Regions from separate parts of the Homo sapiens genome. Here region 1 is linked to region 2. The links are contacts of gene promoters, found by promoter capture Hi-C in blood cells and fetal thymus (Javierre and others, 2016). All regions are on one chromosome and are shown on one strand. Each heading gives the region's core, a stretch centred on a gene start or on the middle of the fragment in contact. The rest is flanking DNA. Distances are from core to core; before and after follow the strand shown.

Region 1 (3,991 bases), core at 587-3,086, 260 kb before region 2:
GCATGAAGAGGGGGCACAAAACATTATAGACACCAGATGGCTGCCACAGCCCGAAGCATCATGTCTTCACAAAGCAATGTTCAAAACAGGAAGGGTAGGAAGAGAGTAGAGACTCCTCTTATATCTTTGTACTAAGGAGACAAACCCTTTTCAGATGCCTCTGAGCAAACTTCTCCTCACGTCCCATTAGCCAGGACTGAGTCACAGACCCACACCATAGCAACAAAGAGGCAGGGAAAACTAGTATTTAGCATTTTCAGTCTCTGTCGTGGGAGACAGGCTTTAACAACAAGGAAGAAAGGGGAAAGGAATGGCTGTTCATTGGGCAACATACAGCATCAGCTTCAGACATCCTGCTCCAAAAGAAAGTGACCTTAAAACCTTTGTACAGGCTCTGACAGACCTTTAGCAGGAGACAGAGTGGGGTCTTCTGTGGAGACAATGAGAAGGAATTTAAGAGATATTAAACATGCCAACCACCTACCTTTCTCTTTCTTTTCCTTTTCTTTTTTCTTTTCTTTCTCTCCTTCCTTCCTTCCTTTCTTCCTTCCTTCCTTCCTGCCTGCCTGCCTTCCTTCCTTCCCTTTCTTGCTTTCTCCTTCCTCCCTCCCTCCTTTCCTTCCTTCCCTTCCTTCCTTCTTTTTATTTGAGACAAGGCCGCACTTTGTTGCCCAGGCCAGAGTGCAGTGGCACAAACATGGCTCACTGAAGCCTTGACCTCCTAGGCTCAAGCAATCCTTCTGCCTCAACCTCCCGAAGTGCTGGGATTACAGGCATGGGCCACCATGCCTGGCCAGGCTGGCAACTTTGACATGGACTAGGCAATGCCACTTATTAGCTGTATAATCTTGGATCAGTTATTTAGTAGCTCTCTGAGGCTCACTTCCTTTATCTATAAAATGGGTATAATGCCTGTCTCATAGGTTTGTGACAGCCACTTTGGGGCTATGAGACAGGGGCAAAATGGATGAGAACCAAAAAATAGTTTTGAATGAAGCGTCTTAGGAAGGCCAGCTCCTGAATGCATAATAGAAGTAGATGGGGAAGAAAAATAAGAGATGTTCTTGAGGAGTGTGATTATGTGCTAAGCCTGAACCTCTATGAGTTCAAGAAATACAAATGAAAATTTTTGGTTAAATTGACATTATATATCTGTCATGACATAGCTCAAACAATTCACCACATGGGCCATGAAATCATACACATAAAAAATAATAGTGATAATACCTCACATTAACTGAGCACTTATCCTGTGCCAGGCATATACTACGTAGCTGTTCTGCACACAGCTTCATTTATTCCTCACAATGCCCCTAAGATAGGAACACCTAATATCTCCACTTTTCACCTGAAGAAACTGAGATTTAGTGACCTTAAGTAACTTGCCAAACACCCCACACAGTACATAACAAAGCAAAGGCTCAAGTTGAGGGCTGCCTGACTCTAAACTTCCCCTGATGTTGACCCACTTGGTGCCTCCCAGTGTGTTCTCCCGGCCTGCTGTGCCTCTCTCTAGTGTCACACTTGCCAGACCTTATTGAAGTGAGCTTTTCACTTGTCTTTCTATCCAGCTCGTCTGAAATATTTGTCTTTGGATCCTAAACCTAGCACATGTAGGAGTTAGATAAGTTTACCAACATAAATTAAATTAATGAACAAATAAACTGGAGGGTCGGCAATATAAAAGAGTGCTGAGTTCAGAAGAGGGGAGGTAGCCACAGGCAGCAGAAGTTGGGAAAGGCTTTGTGGGTGAGGCAGGGCCTTAGCCAAGCTGGAAGAGGAAGAAAACTTAAATGTGTAGGGAAGGTGGAAGAGAAGACTGGGAGAGAAATATTATTTTAGCAAAGGCCAAATGCCTAAAATGTTTTTTGGTTCTAATTCTACCTCTCCAGCAGAATATTTTTAGTTCATTATGCCATAGCATGAATAAATGTAATACATTATTTCCATGTCAGCCAGCCCCTTCTGCTGGACCACAGGCATAATATAGGGCCTCTGCTTCATTATGATCTCCTTCCAGATACAACAATCAACTGAAAATATAAAATTGCATTGAAGGTCAGAAACCCATAGACAGCTTGCATCCAACCACATATACTGCATTTAAAAAAATTCCATAGGAAAACATGGTCAGTGTTCACCTAGTGTGAGTCACATAGCATCCTAAAAACGATAGACTGTAATTTGAACCCATGCAAAACCTTTTAAACAGCTAATATTGCTAGCATCGAAAAAAGCAAACAGTCACTTTTTCTTGATTATTACTACTCAGAGGCCACCCCCCAGAACTTTCAATTAACTGAGGTAGGAGACAAAACACAAGAACGTAAGTATTATTTTCTGAACTTTTCATTGAAATATAGCATACACACAGAAAGTGTACATATTATAAGCGTACAGCTAATGAATTTCACAGTTGAACAGACCCTCGTAACCAATGTCTAGCTCAGGAAAGAACATTCACAGCAAACCATGCCTCATGCCTCATTCCACTCAGCATCCCTAAGGATAACCCTTCTCCTAATTACCAACACCAAAGTTAAGTTTTTCCTGTTTCTGTACTTTAGATATAAAAGATCCTGGAGCCTGTATTATTTTGGGTCTGGCTTCCGTCATTCAGCATTATATTTCTGACACTCATCCATATTGTTGTGCATAGTAATAGATCATCCATTCACATTTTTGTCCAGTAGCTGTTCTCAAAGTGTGGTTCACAAGTGTGATCCAGAAGTAAACTATTTTCATAAGTACAGGAACACATAATTTGCCTTTTTCATTGCACTGATAGCACAAAAGCAATAGTGGGAAAAATGGCTGGTACCTTACCACAAATCAAGGGAGCGGCACCAAATGGTTATAGTCATCACTGTCTTACTTTTCAACACCATGCACTACCAATCAACAGAAAGAAACAATTATTTTCCATAAAGCTAGTTTAACTTAATAATGTTCTTGGTTAAAAAAAAAAAATTTAATTTGGCCACTCGCAGTGGCTGATGCCTATGATCCGAGCACTTTGGGAGGCTGAGGCAGAAGGATCACTTGAAGCCAGAAGTATAGGACCAGCCTGGGCAACAAAGCAAGACCTCATCTCTATAAAAAAAAAAAAAAAAATTAGCTAGCATGGTGGTGTATACCTGTAGTCCCAGCTATTTCAGAGGCTGAGGTAGGAAGATCACTTGAGTCCAGGAGTTCGAGACTACAAGGAGCTATGATTGCACCACTGCACTCCACCTTGGGCAACTGAGTGAGACCTTGTCTCTAAAAAACTAAAAATAAAAAAATAATAATTTTATTACTTCTCAACTCTTGAGTACACATCTTTTTAATATTTTCTGTGTGATGTAAAGTGCTTATAAAATACTTCTGCAACAGAAAGCACAATGGATAAAAAGAGCTCATGAGGAGAATCAGTTGAGTTGTTAAGTTAAACTAGTCACTTTTGTCATGAAAAGCAATTTTATTTAAAGGAATGACGGGAAAACTGTTGTTATTCAGACTTAGGTACTTGGCAAACATTTTCTCAAAAATAAATGAAGTGAGCCTGTAACTTCCAGAAAAGCAACTGTCAGCATTTGATGCTAATGATAAAACTTGAGCTTTCAAACTAAAATTAGAGTTCTGGAAAACATATCCACCACCATGATCTTGAAGACTTCCTGATTTTAAAAAGTATTATATAAAGAAATATTGAAACATTTGTAGGATCTGAGTAATTCAGTGAATGAATATTGCCCAAATCACCAATGTATAACACAAAATCATGTGTGGGTAAAAGATCCACTCAAAGTACAAGGTAGACCAGTGGATTTTAATTTCATAGAAAATGGGAAGTTCATTGACATGGTTTCAGAATCCATACTGAAACCAATCTTTAAGACACTACCACTTTTCAACTCTTGGTGTATTATAAAGAAGAATATCCACATTTTTAAAAAGCAATTTATTACTTACCCGTGTGAGGTTGGATTTTTTTCATATATAGTTAACC
Region 2 (4,057 bases), core at 985-3,484:
ATATATTAATCCGTGAAAGATTTGTTACCCACTAAAATAGGGCATGAGAAAAATTTTCCTATTATAATTTTTAAAAAAAGTCAATTACTAGTAAGAAGCTACAGGTCAGATATTTGAAAACTACAACGAAAACCATCCTTACTCCTCCCCCACCCGCTTGGATGTCATCAGAAATTCTGAGTAAGAGTAGGCCAAGTTAGGATATCATGTGGGTGGGGATTTACCCACATTCACCGGAAAAGCAGTGGGATACAGGTTTTACTTGTTCCGGTCAAACCTCCCTTCCCCCTCACCTCCCAAATAATTAAGGCTTTAGCTATGTGCTCAGTCCTTTACTATCAAAAAAAAAAAAAAAAAAAGAGAGAGAGAAAAGAAAAGTTCAAGTACAGAATTATTTTTAGATTATAGTCCGCTTAGAGATGAACTATTTGAATAAGGTTTCTACTTTTGGAAAGCGGAGAAAACTAGGTAGTAAAGCCTCTATTTCCCTTCTAAGAGTAAACTTTTTAATCCAATTTGATGATTACCTTAATATCTCTACTACATGAATTTAAGATAACACTGTATCACTAAAGTAAATGAAATTAGCAAGCGTTAATCACGTCTTAACAGCTAGCCAATCTTAGTGGATTGAAATTAAGTCAATTTACAAACTGTTTTCCTGTGATGGAGTAACACTTAATACAGGTGTTTCCACTTAATCCAATTCATTCTGTAATTCACATTATACACCTACTATGTTTGAAGGTCTGAATCAAAAAGGAGTGTACCCGTACGGTGGGGAAGGCATTTATTGGGAGGGGAGGACATGGAATCATGGCCCTAATCCATTTAAAATAATGAAAAATACTGATTAAATATCTATAAACTTTCCCGGGGAATCCCAGTAGAACAGAACATGGTTTTATAAGCTGAGGGTAAAAACAAGCGTCTCAGTTTTTTTATTAAAAGAACTTTTTTAAACTGCCTTTCAACAGTTTGAAAGCTTTCAATGGTTTGTTTTATCTGGTGTTTCTGATCAACCAATTAATCCATCCTCTGACAGGAACCCATCTGTCAGTCTATCCACACACAATCTGAAAGGGACTCCAGATTAGGCTCCCTCTTTTAGCCACGCCTACACAGGAAGCATCCTGTGGATGGAATGGAAAGTATGCCAGGCCTTTGCACGCCCCTCACGCCCCCATCTCCTTCGCTTAACCTCGACAGCCTCTTACCTTTAAACCCTAGCTAGGTTTTCACACAGCCCTATCAAATAAAAAGGACAATACTCAAACTGAATTAGAGAATGAGAATTGTCGAGGTTTCTTTTAATTTAGATCAATGCCAGTTTTACTCTTCTTCTAGAGTCCTTTTTAAGGAGATATCATCCCCACCAGTTGTGATCCCAGAGAATCACAACAGGGCATGGCGTAGGAAAGACCTCGAAGCTCAATTCTCTATTATACCATGCCCACCATACGAAAGGCATTTAACCTCCCGCGTGATTTTGTCCTTAAGATGCTCCACAAGATCTAACACAACTCCTACATCTAAGAGTCGACTCACTAATTTCAAGGGTTTTTGTTTTTGTTTTTGTTTTTATAAGCTCTGCGTGTGGCACCCGATAACTTCAAGTTTAGAGTGAGCAGTTTCCTCCCAATGCCGTTTGCTCAACTACAGTACTAGGAGTTTTGAGGAGCAGCTCTCTAGCGAGTCCTCCTGCTGCGTCCTCCCCCACACGCACGCACCAAGTTCCACAGCTTCCGCAGCCGTCGGGGAACAAAGTCCTTATTTGGTCACGGCCATCCCCTTACATAGTGGAGGTGGAGATCCTCCTCTCCAAGGACCACCCGCGTAGGGCGAGATTCCCCAATTCTGACTTTTCACTACTATCCCCCACAGGGGCGGGGCTCCAACTCCAGGTAACCAGACCAGGCAACCTGGACTTCCAATTAGCAGGGGAGTCCCCAAGCCAGCCTGGCCAATCTCGGCCGGCTAGCCAAGACGACCAGACGTGACGTCAGACATGATTAAGTTGGCGCGTCACCTAGACGTCAGCCTCTTACCTCTCGGACGTCCCGTCCCAGGAGCAAAACTCTAGTGACTTTGGGCCCGCCCCCGTGAGAGTGGAGGGCGGCCGATGAGGGCGGTTCTGAAGGGAACAAGACCAATGAGACGAGCCCGGGGCGGGGCGCGGGGCCGGAGGGTGGGGCGGGTGGCGGCGGTGGCAGTCCGAGGTCTGGCTCCGCGCAGTATATGACAGTACGTCAGCAGCGGGATGGCCCTAGCAGTGGCGGCGGCTGCAGAAGCCCAAGCAGCCGCGGCCGCAGTGGAGGCTAGAGCCGGAGCGGCGGCGGCGGCGGCACCCCGGGGAGTTTAAGATGGCGGCGGGGGGGACAGGGGGCCTGCGGGAGGAGCAGCGCTATGGGCTGTCGTGCGGACGGCTGGGGCAGGACAACATCACCGTACTGCATGTGAAGCTCACCGAGACGGCGATCCGGGCGCTCGAGACTTACCAGAGCCACAAGGTGAGCGGGCCGGCCGGCAGGCTGGGCTCAGAGAGGCAGAGCGCACCCCTCACGGCCTGGCCGCGCCCGGGTGCGGGGCCGGCGGAGCCGTGGCTGGCAGCTGCTACCGTCAGCGCCCGCAGCGGCCAGGCAGGGCAGGGCCGGGCAGGGTGGCTGACGCCGCGGTCCCGGGCTAGCCTGGGCGTTGGGGAAGCGGGCAGTCGGGCGGCCCCTGGCGGCGGGGCCGAGGCAGCCGCAGCCCTGGGTCGGCTGCGCTGCCGCTGCGGGACTTTCCGACGGCCCCCGAGGATTTCCTGGCTTGTTGGGTCCCAAGGAGGGAGAGAGGCCCCGATAAGAGAAGTGAGATGACCACGCTACCCTCGGCGGGGAAGGAGGGTAGCGAGCAGCGTATGGGCAAGGAACCAGGGACGACTCGCGGGCACCAGCTGCCCGCGTTTTCCAGTTACATAGGCACGGTGGATCCTCAGAGACAGGACACAGGCGCTCCGCGTGTGGGGGTGGGACCTTGTATTCCCAGGGACTTGGGGACACAGGCGCTCCACGTATCAGGGGACACACTGTGTGCTCGAAGGGATGGGGACTCGGGCGCATGGTGAGGGGCACACGGTGTACTCATAGAGATAGGGACTTAGGCAGTCCGTGTAAGGGGGCGGCGCACACTGGAACGGCGGGGACACTGGCGCTTCGCGTACGGGGGGGGAGGGGACACACCTGCATTCCCAGGGACTCCGGGACACCGGCGCATCGCGTTACTGGAGACGCGCCGCGTCCAGGACGGACACAAACCAACACAGTGCCCTGGGGAGAGACCTGAGGACTCACGCACACTTAGCGCTCCCCGGGAGCAAGACATCGGGTTCTGGAGAGAGAGGTTCACGGACGCTCAACGTACCCGAAAAAGCTCCCGGCGTCTTGGGCTGACTCTGGGAAGTGTAAACGGGGAACGAGCCAGAGCCAGAAGGTGTGGGGAGGATACAATGCATCCCGGGCAGAGACTCGGGCCTCTCACCCCTCGTTTTCGAGAGAAGCCCATGGACACACACACACACATATACACACACACCCCTCCAGTACAGAGAGAGGCTCAGATAGGCGCACATACACTGTAATTGGACTACAAATCCAGACGCTTTCATGTTGGAAAAAAAATGGGAGAGACAGGGAAGCACCGAGAAGGGACGCGGTAACCAGGGTGCATGGGGAAACAGTTTATGGACATGCAGTACTGTGGGAGACCGGAGTGGATACATCGCGTGAGGGAGGGATATGCCATATGGGGGAACCTGTAACGTTTTACAGGAGAGGAGAGAGTCGGAAGGGAGATAGAACCCACGGGGCATCTTACAAATAGCCCGTTCGGTACTGAGGAACACACTCCAACCGGTCTCGTACAACAGACAGAGGGGCAGAAGGACACCGAGACACAGATTCACATAGTTATTCAGCTAAAAGTGGGGAAAAGAATTGACATCTGTTGAGCTCCCACTAGTGCCAGGCACTTTAAATACATAGAGCGAAGGCAGAGTCTGAGGCAGAGCGGCAGGAGA

Evidence for each region. The method cuts DNA at HindIII sites, captures the fragments that hold promoters and counts their contacts. A CHiCAGO score of 5 or more calls a contact.
Region 1: a fragment that was not itself captured here is called in contact with the fragment with the promoter of ELL2 in region 2 in 4 of 17 cell types (endothelial precursors, M1 macrophages, M2 macrophages and 1 more); the score reaches 7.7 in endothelial precursors.

What each region holds. Positions count from the first base shown.
Region 1 is chr5:96,216,328-96,220,318 of GRCh38, reverse strand. All of the region lies in intron 1 of LOC101929710 (a long non-coding RNA gene), which reads right to left. It also overlaps a transcript of CAST not described here. Among named protein-coding and RNA genes, the nearest start is that of MIR583, 140 kb to the right of the region's middle. The HindIII fragment of the contact is 4,538 bases long and covers 1-3,991 here.
Region 2 is chr5:95,960,028-95,964,084 of GRCh38, reverse strand. It overlaps ELL2 (elongation factor for RNA polymerase II 2), which reads left to right and starts at 2,234. Exons shown (of 12, transcript NM_012081.6): 1 at 2,234-2,510. The coding sequence starts at 2,364. LOC101929710 (a long non-coding RNA gene) reads right to left here and starts at 2,084. Exons shown (of 5, transcript NR_130776.1): 1 at 2,049-2,084. It also overlaps a transcript of CAST not described here. RefSeq lists silencers at 1,678-2,145, 2,101-2,340, 2,411-2,820 and an enhancer at 1,625-2,382. The HindIII fragment of the contact is 3,633 bases long and covers 988-4,057 here.